Regions from separate parts of the Homo sapiens genome. Here regions 1 and 2 are each linked to region 3. Evidence: promoter capture Hi-C in 16 types of primary human blood cells and fetal thymus (Javierre and others, 2016). All regions are on one chromosome and are shown on one strand. The core of a region is centred on a gene start or on the middle of the fragment in contact, and the rest is flanking DNA. Distances in the headings are between cores, read along the strand shown. Region 1 holds the start of ASIC3 (acid sensing ion channel subunit 3). Region 2 holds the start of KCNH2 (potassium voltage-gated channel subfamily H member 2). Region 3 holds the start of ACTR3C (actin related protein 3C).

Region 1 (3,777 bases), core at 47-2,546, 720 kb before region 3:
TGTGGCTGTCCTCCGGGGCTGGCAGTATGTTGAAAAGGCAGAGGGAAAGCAAGCCCCCCCCACCTCCTGGCAGAGATAGGGGTCTTCTGCCCCAGAATGGTCCCACCATGGAGGACCCCCAGCCCCAGGAGCAGGGCCTCCCTGGGCCAGACCTCAGGCCTAGGGCCAGCCGGGGTCAGTGTGGCCTCACATGCTCCCCTCGGGCTGGGAGACAGAGAAAGCCCCAAGGAGGACAGCTTCCTGGGCTGCACGGAGTGGCACTGGGGGGTGGGGAGTCCATGGCTGGTAGGAAGGAAGAGGTCCCCTGGCTTTGGGGGAGCCTGTGCTGGCTAGGGAATTGTGGGTGCTGGGCAGGGACTGGTCGGCTCTCTGGGTCCCTGGCAGGATAGGTAGGGAGGTCAGCTCACCGTGGTGAAGTTCTCAGGCCCACAAGGTTGGCCACGGAAGCGACAGTCCAGCAGCATGTCATCCAGGGAGTGCCCAGCACGGGCATAGAGTTGCGCCATGTCAAAGGTGGGACTGGGCATGAAGCCGGGCGGTGCAGGGGGCCGGCCCAGGGCGCGCAGGAAGGCGGCGTGCTCTGCGGGATCCAGGCCCAGCAGCGCAGACCCAGCCCAGTGCAGGTCGTTGGGCGTTAGGCGCGAGCGGCGCAGTGGGTTGATGTTGCACAGGGTGACAGCCGGGAAGATGAGCCGGTGGCTTTCTCGCTCATCCAGGGCAGTCTGGTGGTGGAACTCCCTGTAGTAGCGCACCCTCTCAGCCACCTGGTAGAGGAAGGTGGCCACTGACAGGACCACGGCCGCTGCCCACATCCCCCGGCGCAGGCTCAGGCTGCCTGGCCCGAAGACGTGGCCCAGCCCGTGCATCGAGCAGTTGCTGGCGAACACGCGGATGTCCGAGGCTGGCCGCCGGGCCTCCTCTGGGCCTGAGGTGGGCTTCATGGCCAGAACCCAGGAGCGGAACCAGCTACAGAGGCTTGGAAGAAGCGAGAGAGAGTCAGTCAGGGGGCTAAGGAGGCTAAGATAGGATTCAGGAGGCCAGGCAAGGAGAGGAGAAGAGAGGGTGGGAGACAGCCAAGGTTGGAAGGCAGGGAGGCACTAGCCTGGCAGGATTGGAGGAGGTGATCTGGCCGGTCAGGTCCCACTGTTCCTTCCCGAGGAACAGGCGGTGGCTCCACTGGGCTAGGCACTGGGCTGGGGACTCCGCAGCAGACCAGGTGGGACGTAGCTGACCGTGGCAGGCAGGGGCTGCGGAGCGGTGCTGAGCCGGCGGTGCTGAGCCGGCGCTGCTGCAGAGGATTGGGTTTCAGCAGTAGGGGGGAAAGGGGGCCGACAGAGCAGTCTGGGGGGTAGGAGAGGTCCCTAGGGCCCCAGGCTGAGCCATTAGTGCAGCATGGAGGGGGGCATGGCTGTCCAAGACGAGAGGCGCCAGGAGGAAACCGCAGTAATCCTAGGGAGAGCTTGAGAAAAGCCCAGAGGTAGATTGGGCCTGGAGATGCCTTGGGGCCCCCTAGGCTCCCAGTTGCAACCCCTGTACACTGGCCGCGAGGGTCAGTCGCTGACCCCTGGCCTAGCTCCTCTCTCCTTTTGCCTCTGCGGCCTTCCCTCTAGCTTCACCCAGGATCTGTTCCTTCACGAATACCAGAGCTGGCTCTTGGCCAAGCTGGGAAATGGTTGGAAGGCTGGCATCAGCAGATCTCTTCTTTCTGTGCCCCTAGCATCTCAGCCTACACTGGATGGCCAGGGCACTCTTCATGTCCCACTTCCAGGGCCCGTCTGTTTCCTAAGTGTCCCTCTCTCCCTAGGGAGTCAAAGCCTACCTCCCCACACTCAGGCCTCTGAGGATGTTGGCCTCTACAATGGTTATGGGCTCACCTGCCACCCCAGGTAGAACATGGGTGCCCCACCTGCCACCCTCCCGGGTACCACGGGTACCCCACCTGCCATCTCAGGCACAACATGGGTATTCTGTGATTTCCCATCTTACGCTGCTATATCCAGGACCTGGAAAACCTACATTTTTCCAAAGGGCTGCATACCACCCATTATGTGCACATACCATAGTTTATTTAATGACTCCCCCACTGATGGGCACTGGGGGTGTCCAGTCTTTCCATTACAAACAATGTTGCCGTATCATCACACAGATGTGAACTCCCAGGACTTTGGTGGGCTTTTTTTGACCATGAGTGGTAGAAACATGGTTCCACCAGCCAAACGTGTGCACACACCATGCTGCAACTGCTGGGCCACCTGTCTGTCCTCCCAACAGGACACAAGCTTCATGGGGGCAGGGACTGTCCTCATTCCCCATCGTGGGCTCAATGGCACATGACAGGTGCTTGATTAATAAACACTTTGGAAGGACTGAGTACCATGGTTACAGCACAGGCGTACCAGCTCCCCAGAGCCACAGTGCCATGCTTTGCAAGTATTTACTGTAGATGATCCCACTCACACTCTCAAAACAGGCATTCAGCATCAAGCACAGCTAGGCTCCCACTCTCCACTGTGGAGCGAAGGCCGAGGCGAGGTTAGGAAGACGGCGCGGCTCCTGCGGTCTAGCTCTTCCAGCTGGACTAGCCAAGGGGTTTCACTGCTTCTCTAGGGGGCGGGTGAAGGGCTGGATTTAAAGAAGCCGCCCAGAAGATATAAATCTGGTGTCAGAGGCATTTTGGGCAGCCTGAGGCTGATGACTGAGTGGGTGAAGCAGGAACCACCTTGGCTGGCTGCCTGGTGAGGGAGGGGTCAGGCCAACAAGCAGGGCCCCAGCAGGGCTTGTGGACTTGCCAGCTGAGGCCCTACTCTGGGCTGCCCTAAGGAGGGGTTTAGCTGTGAACCAGCCCCAGGCTCTGCTCCTGGACCTCCACTGCTTAAAGACACAGCCTCTGATCTGTCAGGAAGTGGGATATCAAATCAGGGTGGATGTGGGCCTGGGGTTTTTGGATGGCTTGTCCCCAAAGCACCATCTAGTTCTAAACCACACCCACAAGAGCCCGTGGGTCCCACTCTGGCTCCTGCACGCAAACTTGAGCCACTGCTGCCTCTTCCAGGCTGGCCTCCCAGCAGCACCAGCTGCTCCATCAATGCACTGTATCACACCCCTGAAAGAGGGTACCACCCTTCTTTACACAGGGTAAATCCAGAATGCTTGCCTGGCTGTGAAGGTGCATTGCAGGTACCACCTCTTCTCCTGCCCAGGGGAACAGGGCACCGTGTAGTCCCACAGCCTGGATGTGGCTGGATAGGGGAAGGATCCCAGTAGGAAGTGACAGCGGCACCAACATGGGGAGGGCTGATGCATCTGCAGCAGTGCAGGGACACGAGGTCCTGCTGGGGCACCAGTTCAGCCAAGGACCTACTTGTGTGCCTTTCCAGGCCCCTCAGAAGCCAGCTGGAGCCTAGCCCCCTCATCCACAGTCTCAGGGCCACAGGCGCCCATCACTCAGGATGTCTGCCTTCCCCTTTCAAGGTGCGCCTCCCAGAACCTGCTGGGGATGCTGGCCTGTCCACAGCCGCACCCTCCTGGACCGATTCTGTACTGGATTCTGCAGTAGCTGCTCCATTTAGCTCTGTACTCGTCAGCACTGTGGGCAGGAAGCAGAGAGCTCCAGGTGGGCATCAGCCCCTCCCATCTCCTTCAGTGCTGGGTGTTCTTGGTGTAGATGGAGGCTGGTTCACAATCTCAGTGGGTGAAAGACGCCAGGCACACAGGGCAGGGCCGGTGGAAGACAGCCAGGCAGGCTGGCGCTTCTCGTGGGAACTGGCCATTGTGGCC
Region 2 (3,589 bases), core at 945-3,444, 650 kb before region 3:
GAGAGAGGGAGAGATCTGTCTCTCCTCAGCTTGAGGGAACAGCTCTCTTCTTGCCTCTGTGCACAGAAGGAGGGCTACCCCGTGCCTGGGCTCCTCTCTGTTTGGGAGGATGAAGGGCTCCTCTGACTCCTGTCTTCCCTTTGGGATAAGAGCAGAGGCCTGTCCCAGCAACACGGGTACAGGAGTGGAGGACAGCTGGCCAGCTCAGATGAGTGGCTCCTTCCCTTCAGGGCCTGGCTCTCCCTCTCCCTTGGTCTGGAGAGAGGGGGAGGCTACAGATGTCCCTTTCCCTTCTTGCCCTCCCATGCCCATTCTCAGCTGCTGGCCTTTGCTCACTTTCTCTCCATCCCCTGGCCTGGACAGGAGGACACTTCACTCACACATGAATCATCCTGGATTCATGGTAGGCAACCCAGCAGCCAGGGGTGGCCTTGGGGCGTGGCGGGGGCTGGGCCAGTCGTGGACTAGGTTCTACCCGGAACCCAGATGTGTTGATGCACCTGATGCCAAATGCTACACCAAGGAGGAGCTTGTGCTGTGGAAGGCCCTGGGCCCCCGGGGGGGTGAGTGAGGAAACTGCTGGCAGTGGAGAGGGCCTGAGGAATAACTGCACAGGCAAGAGCCTCTGGACTTTTTTAGCATCAGCTGTGGAGCCACCTCCTTCTCTCCCACTGGCTGCCTCCCTGAGTCACTGCCCACCCACCAGCAAATAAAAAAGAGTGTCATCTGCTGGCCAGTGGCCCCATTTGGCCCCAGTGTTTGCATCTTTGTGCTCCTGGGTGGAAGGTGAGAGTCCGGGTAGGGTGGTCTCACGACGACAGTTTTCTGCGCCTTCCTCCTTCGGGACTCCGATTCCTTCCCTGCCCTTTGTTCTTCCCCTCCCCCCATGATGGTTCTCGCTGGTGACAAGACCCAGCCCCTGCTCCAAGGACAGAGGCAGCTGCAAGCCCTCAGGAGCCCCCACATGGCCCCATCCATCTAGACAGGTCTCTGATCCGGCTGCAGGGAGGGGACCCTCGGCTGTTCAGCTGCGACTCCTCCCTCCCCGCCCGCCCACTCAGCTGTCAACACTCGCCTCCCCGCCCTGGCCTTCCCGGGGCCCTGCCTGACTGCTAAGTCCGAGGACACCGCGCCCGGAGACCCTCACTCAGACGCAAGCAGGCGATGAGCAGGCGGCGGGGCAGACACCCCGCCTGCCCTTGAGCATCCCTAGGCCTCCTTGCCTAAATAAGGGAGCCGCAGCTGGAGCGAGCCAGCTGGCCGGGGGGAGGGGCCTGCGGCTAGGCCAGGGCTTTCCGAGGGGCTGGGCCGTGGCCGCCGCCGCAGGGCCCCGAGCCCGCCGATTGGGCGTGCAAGGCTGGCCCCGGGCTGCCGGGGGAGGGCGGGCCGCTCGCACCCGGGGATCCCCTGGTTGGAACCTCGCGCTCAGGGACCTCTCTTTGATCCTGCAGCTAGGAGGCCGCAACTGCTGTCAGAATGTCCCTCTCTGTGCAGCTCCTATGCAGAGCCCCACAGAGGGCTCTCTCTCTCTCCGTGTGTGTGTGTGTATGTGTGTGTGTGTGTGTGTGTGTGTGTGTGTGTGTATGTGTGTGTGTGTGTGTGTGTGTGTGTGTGTGTGTGTGTTGGGGCAGGGGGCGTGCCCCTTCTAAGTTTAACCCTCCCTTATTTCAGAGCTCTGCTGCTCTGGGGCCTTCAGATTGTCTTGCTTTTCCTATTTCCAGGGTCTCCCTTGACTCCGGGCTCGTCTTCGAGGGTCCAGGCGTTGCCCCGGTCACCCACAGTAGGCACTGAGCGCGTGCTGTGTATACCAAGCCAGTGCTCGGCGTGGTGGGGAACCAGGGCATAAGGACCCGCCGTTTCCCTTCAAATCAGGTTTCTTAGTCGCTAATCTGGGGTGGGGGTGGAATCCCTTCCCCCATCCCGGCCGCCTACAAGCCGGCCATGGCACCTGTCCTCACGGTTTCCCCTGCCTAAGGGTCCCTTCCCCCTCTTCTGGGCGCGCGAGTCCCAGGGGCTCCTTGGCAGAGCGAGGGGCTGGCGTTGGGGGAGCACTCGGCGCGGCTCAGCCAATGGGAAGGTCGGGCGCGCGCGGTGGGGCGGGATGGGGGGGGGAGAGGGCGGTGCTGCGGGCGCGCGGCAGGCGGGAGGGGGCCGGGAGGCGGGGGCCGGAGCCGGAGGGGCGCGCGCCGCATTAACCCTTCCGCGGCCGGGCCGAGCCGCAGGCGCTGCCCGAGCCGCGGGCGCTGGAGCGGCTGTCGGCGCGGTGGCAGGCGGGAGCCAGGAGTCCGGGGCTCGGGCGGGCGGAGCGCAGCGCGGGGACGCGGCGGAGCGGGCCCCGCGGCTCGGCGGGGGCCGGCAGACAGGTGTGCCGGCGGCGGGCGGCTCGCGCTCAGGCGGCTCCAGGCCGGGCCCGGGGTCCGGAGCGGGGAGCCGGGAGCCGAGCGAGGACCCGGCGCCCGCAGTCCAGTCTTGGCCGCGCCCGTGCTCGGCTTGGCCGCGGGGTGCGGGGACCACGGCCCGGCCGGGCCACCCGAAGCCTAGTGCTGGGCCGGGCCGGGCCGGGGTGGGTGGGGGCCCGCCCGGCCCGCCCATGGGCTCAGGATGCCGGTGCGGAGGGGCCACGTCGCGCCGCAGAACACCTTCCTGGACACCATCATCCGCAAGTTTGAGGGCCAGAGTGAGTGGGGGAGGGGGCTGAGCGGGGAGGGGGCTCTGGGGGCGGGCCGAGCTCTTCCGAGTGTGGATGGGGGGGCGTGCCCGGGCCGTGTGCGTCGGCAAGTGCGAGTCAATGGGGCCTGGTGGGCCCCAGGCTTTGGCGAGGGGACGGCGGGGGCAAGGCTTGGTGCACCGGGGCCGTGGGCACCGGGCCAAAGGGTTTGGGGTTGGGGCTTGGGGCGGGAAACTCAGCTCAGGCTTTTGGGATCGGAGTGTGTGTGACACGCTGAGTGTGCAGGGAAGGGATGTGGGATGGAGTGTGCAGGTGTCCCCAACTCTGGGTGCGTGGACGTGGATGGGGCTGTGTGCAAGGGCATAAGAGTGTGTACGACCCAAACCCTGGGATCCCGAGAGTCCAGCGCGCACACTGGTCTTGCCAGATCTTGACTGTGTTGTGCCGGAGGGACTGAAAAGCCGTGGATGCAGGGTCAGCTCATAATCTCTTCTTGTGTGTGCCGTGTGTATATAACCCTGAGCCCATGTGTCACCCGTGAGTTAGACCCTGTATGGGCGGTGGGGAGGTGTCTTTGACAAGGCTGCGAGCTTGTGGGCTCTGTGGAGACAGGGTGTCCTGGGGCTAGAGCTGGGCTTTGAGGGTAAGCAGCTCCCTGTGGTACCCCCAAGTTGTGGGTTTTCTTGCCCTGGAGACTGTCACCTAATTCCCTTATGGGGACCGGGAGTACAGCACCCCTAATGCCTGCCTGGTAGGGAGGCTTCTAGAAGGGTCCCAGATTAGGCAAATGTCCTGGGGGTGGGCAGCATTCATGTGCCTGTCCCTAAGGCTGCATGAGCCACAGTGGGTGTGACTGCCAAGGGCCCTGGGAGTTGGGAGAGGATGACATTCCTTGTCCATGACCCTGTGAGCACAGGACAA
Region 3 (3,258 bases), core at 376-2,875:
CACTGGTACAACAGTGACACCACCATGTTCTCTTCCACAGAAGTACTTTAGGATGACAGTGCAGCTGGCACTGTTGAGAGCCAACCTTGAATCCAAATGAATCTAAAACGTAAATTTTAAAAAGAAAGTCATTGATAAATTTCAGTACTTTATAACTAAGAAGTTACTTGTGGCCAGGTGTGGTGGCTCACGCCTGTAATCCTAGCACTTTGGGAAGCCAAGGTGGGTGGACTGCTTTGAACTCAGGGGGTTGAGACCAGCTTGGGCAAGATGGCGAAACCTTGTCTTTACAAAAAAAATACAAAAAAATCAGCCAGCTGTGATGGCCTGTGCCTGTGGTCCCAGCTTCTTGGCAGTCTGAGGCAGGAAGATGGCTTGAGCAGGGAAGTGGAGATTGCAGTGAGCCGTGATTGCACCACTGCATTCCAGCCTGAGCAACAGAGCCAGACCCTGTCTCAAAAAAAAGAAGTTACTTGTGACACACATCACCACAGCTGACAACACATTGGAGGCCTACAACCACAACAAGACAAGATTCCAAGGGCTTCTAAGCTGAAGCACGGCCTTTTGGGCTGCACGCCTGCCCATAGTCGATCATGTGGGCAGCAGTCAGGAAAGCGCCCTAGCCAGGCCACATGGGAAGCAGGCACATCCCTGGGAGGCAAAAGGGAAAGCGGGCCAGGCCGGGGTGACGGCAGGGCGGGGTGATGGCACAATGCATGGAGGAGACTGTGGGGAGAGCTGTTCAGGAGGTGGCCCATGCCTAAGCCTCAAGTGGAAGAGGAGGAATGATGGAGAGCGCCTCCACAGTGAGCCTCTTTCCTCATACAGGTCCATGTGGGCTATTTTGGGGCAAATCTTCAGGCAAGTTTCTAGAGAAACTGAAGGAAAACACCAGAGGGGGCTGCCCAGGTAATGCTGACAATACAGGGAGGTGAGAGGATGAGCAGATCTCAAAGGTGACTGAGAGGCAGAGGGGAGAGACAAGGAAAAACCAAAGTAAAGTGAAGTTAGGGAAACCAAGAAAAGACTTTCCAAAAGCAGTGGTCAGCGGGGTCAAAGGTCCCTTCAGTGGGCGGTACAGCAGGAAGTGGGGGAGAAGCAGGAACCGGGAATGCTGGAGGTGGGGATGGGAGGGAAAAGGCTTGGCTCTGTCCCTAAACAGAGAGAAGGTGACCTGGGAAGAGCGGGGAGGCTAACTACACAGGGAAGAGAAGCTTCCTGGAGAAAGGGATCCAGGGCACAGGCGGTGGAAGGGATTGGCCTCAAGAGACCAGGAAGAACTCTCATTTTTCCTGACAGAGAAAGTAGGATGGGTCTGGTAGCAGGCAAGTCCTGGAGTGCTGTGCAGAAGGGAAGTGAGGCAGCTTATGCCTGAGAGCCAGGCATGTTGATTGCTCACGGGGAGCCGTACATCTGTAAAGGCAGCCAGCGGCTGGCTGAGTGATCTGGCTTAGCCTGGGCTGGGAAGCACCTCCGCACACTGGCTCAAGAAATTAGACCTATTCTTCTCGCTGCTCTCACCAAGCCTTTTCCCAAGTGCGTGCCCAGAAGGAAAGCGGCCACTCTTCTACTTCTCTTGTGCCTGCAAGAGAAGTAGAACCCCACCCTGGGCATTCCATGATTATGCCAGGCCTTTCTCACTCCGCCCAGTCCCTCTCCAGCCCCTCTGCTCTCAACTCCAGCACTGCAGGGGGACAGAGTGTCTACTCCACCCCCACCAGGCAGGGGATTTTAAGCACCTGCTGGGCCCTCAAGTCTCATCTTCCTCCACAACATCTGTGAGAAGATTGAAAGGTGGTGAGAGAAAGGGATAGGAGGAGATGAACGTGTGAAAGGAAAAGAGGAGAGCAAGCCATTGCATGTTTTGGGGTTTTGTCCCACACGCAAATTTGACTACTTATAAAGTCTAAGCAAGATGTTTTAAATAATAATCATGCATCATTAGGTTTCATACTGTGCAAAAAAAATGACACAAAGTGAGATCTGTTACAAACGACACGGCAGCACTCTGCTACTTTCTGGAAGCTTAGGGCTAACAATGGAGTCAGAGCATGGCATCCAGAGCCCGTCTCTGAGCACGGCCGTGATCCTGCTCCAGCACACGCCTCGGTTTCCTCGTCTACATTACGGGAATAGTAACAGCACCCGCCTCATGAGATTGTTAGTGTTAAACGAGTTAATTAATACCACAGTATTTCAGGGCAGTTCTCGGCACAGAGGGAGAGATGGGTAAGGGCTGGCTGTTCCGGAAGATTCTGGCCTCTCCCAGTGTGTTTCGGCGCGAGGGCACCGCTGGCCCAGCAGGTGGCCCCCCGGGGCCGGCACGGGCCCCGACAGCCGCCCCCTTCCCTGAACCTCGGCGGCCCAGTCCCCGCTTACCTGAGGGGTGGAGCCGGCAGCCTGCGGAGCCACTGGCCAAGCTGGGAAGTCCGGCGCAACTCCGCACCGCAGAGCCGGCGCCTCCTCGGCAGGTAAGAGCCGCAGCCCCGCCGCCCGCCGCCTGGCGGCCCCTGACCCCTGGGCCGCGTGCCCACCACCCAACTTGTTGGCCAGCGTGCTTCTCCCAGCGCCGCAGGCCTGAGCTCCCGGAACGCGCCCAGGGGGCCTGGCCAAAGGCCGTAGTGGGCGCTCTGGATTCCGGGATGCGCCAGGGGTTACTTCCGGAAGCGCAGCCTGCGGGGGTCTTCGCGCGCACCCCCCGCCTCGCAGTTGGTACGTTCCTCCTACCTGCGGTGCCTGAGTGCGCAGGCGTGGGCAGCGAGGCGGTGCGGCCGGAAGCGAAGGGGCCGTGAGGTCAACAGTCGGTAATCGTTTATCGGTGCGGCCTTAGAGAAAGGACCTCCAAGCCCTTGTTCAATACATGTTGGGTGGTGGTCACAGGTGCCAGTCTCCGGACGGATGGCGGCCTAGATTTCCTCCCGGACTCGGTGGCACCCAAGGCCCCCTGCACGCCGGCGCTGTGCGTGCCAGGCTGACCGCCCGAGTGCGACCCGGACCTCGTCCGCACGTGCAGATGGAAGGGGCCACAAAGACGATAAGGATCCAGGTCTCCCGCGTGGAAGGCTCATCTATCGGTCGGTTCAGGAAATCCACCCAGGGTGTCTCCTGGTGTTATCAGAAAGGGGTCCCGATCCAGGCCCTAAGAGAGGGTTCTTGGATCTCATGCAAGAAAGAATTCAGGGCAAGCCCATAGAGTAAAGTGAAAACAAGTTTATTAAGAAAGCAAAGAAGTAAAAGGATGGCTACTCCATAGGC

The links. The method cuts DNA at HindIII sites, captures the fragments that hold promoters and counts their contacts. A CHiCAGO score of 5 or more calls a contact.
Region 1: a contact is called between the fragment with the promoter of ASIC3 here and a fragment that was not itself captured in region 3, in 1 of 17 cell types (non-activated CD4 T cells). The highest score is 7.1, in non-activated CD4 T cells.
Region 2: a contact is called between the fragment with the promoter of KCNH2 here and a fragment that was not itself captured in region 3, in 2 of 17 cell types (naive CD4 T cells and non-activated CD4 T cells). The highest score is 5.2, in naive CD4 T cells.

The regions. Positions count from the first base shown.
Region 1 is chr7:151,046,050-151,049,826 of GRCh38, reverse strand. ASIC3 (acid sensing ion channel subunit 3) reads right to left here and starts at 1,296. Exons shown (of 11, transcript NM_004769.4): 1 at 408-1,296. The coding sequence starts at 941. It overlaps ABCB8 (ATP binding cassette subfamily B member 8), which reads right to left. Exons shown (of 16, transcript NM_007188.5): 16 at 2,045-3,777. The HindIII fragment of the contact is 11,911 bases long and covers 1-2,281 here.
Region 2 is chr7:150,976,926-150,980,514 of GRCh38, reverse strand. It overlaps KCNH2 (potassium voltage-gated channel subfamily H member 2), which reads left to right and starts at 2,194. Exons shown (of 15, transcript NM_000238.4): 1 at 2,194-2,677. The coding sequence starts at 2,602. LOC124901776 (a long non-coding RNA gene) reads right to left here. Exons shown (of 3, transcript XR_007060592.1): 3 at 3,160-3,589. RefSeq lists a silencer at 1,177-1,526. The HindIII fragment of the contact is 24,052 bases long and covers 1-3,589 here.
Region 3 is chr7:150,322,685-150,325,942 of GRCh38, reverse strand. ACTR3C (actin related protein 3C) reads left to right here and starts at 2,398. Exons shown (of 8, transcript NM_001164458.2): 1 at 2,398-2,474. LRRC61 (leucine rich repeat containing 61) reads right to left here and starts at 2,588. Exons shown (of 3, transcript NM_001142928.2): 1 at 2,383-2,588; 2 at 1-102. RefSeq lists enhancers at 1,759-1,828, 3,149-3,208 and a silencer at 2,219-2,538. The HindIII fragment of the contact is 811 bases long and covers 1,220-2,030 here.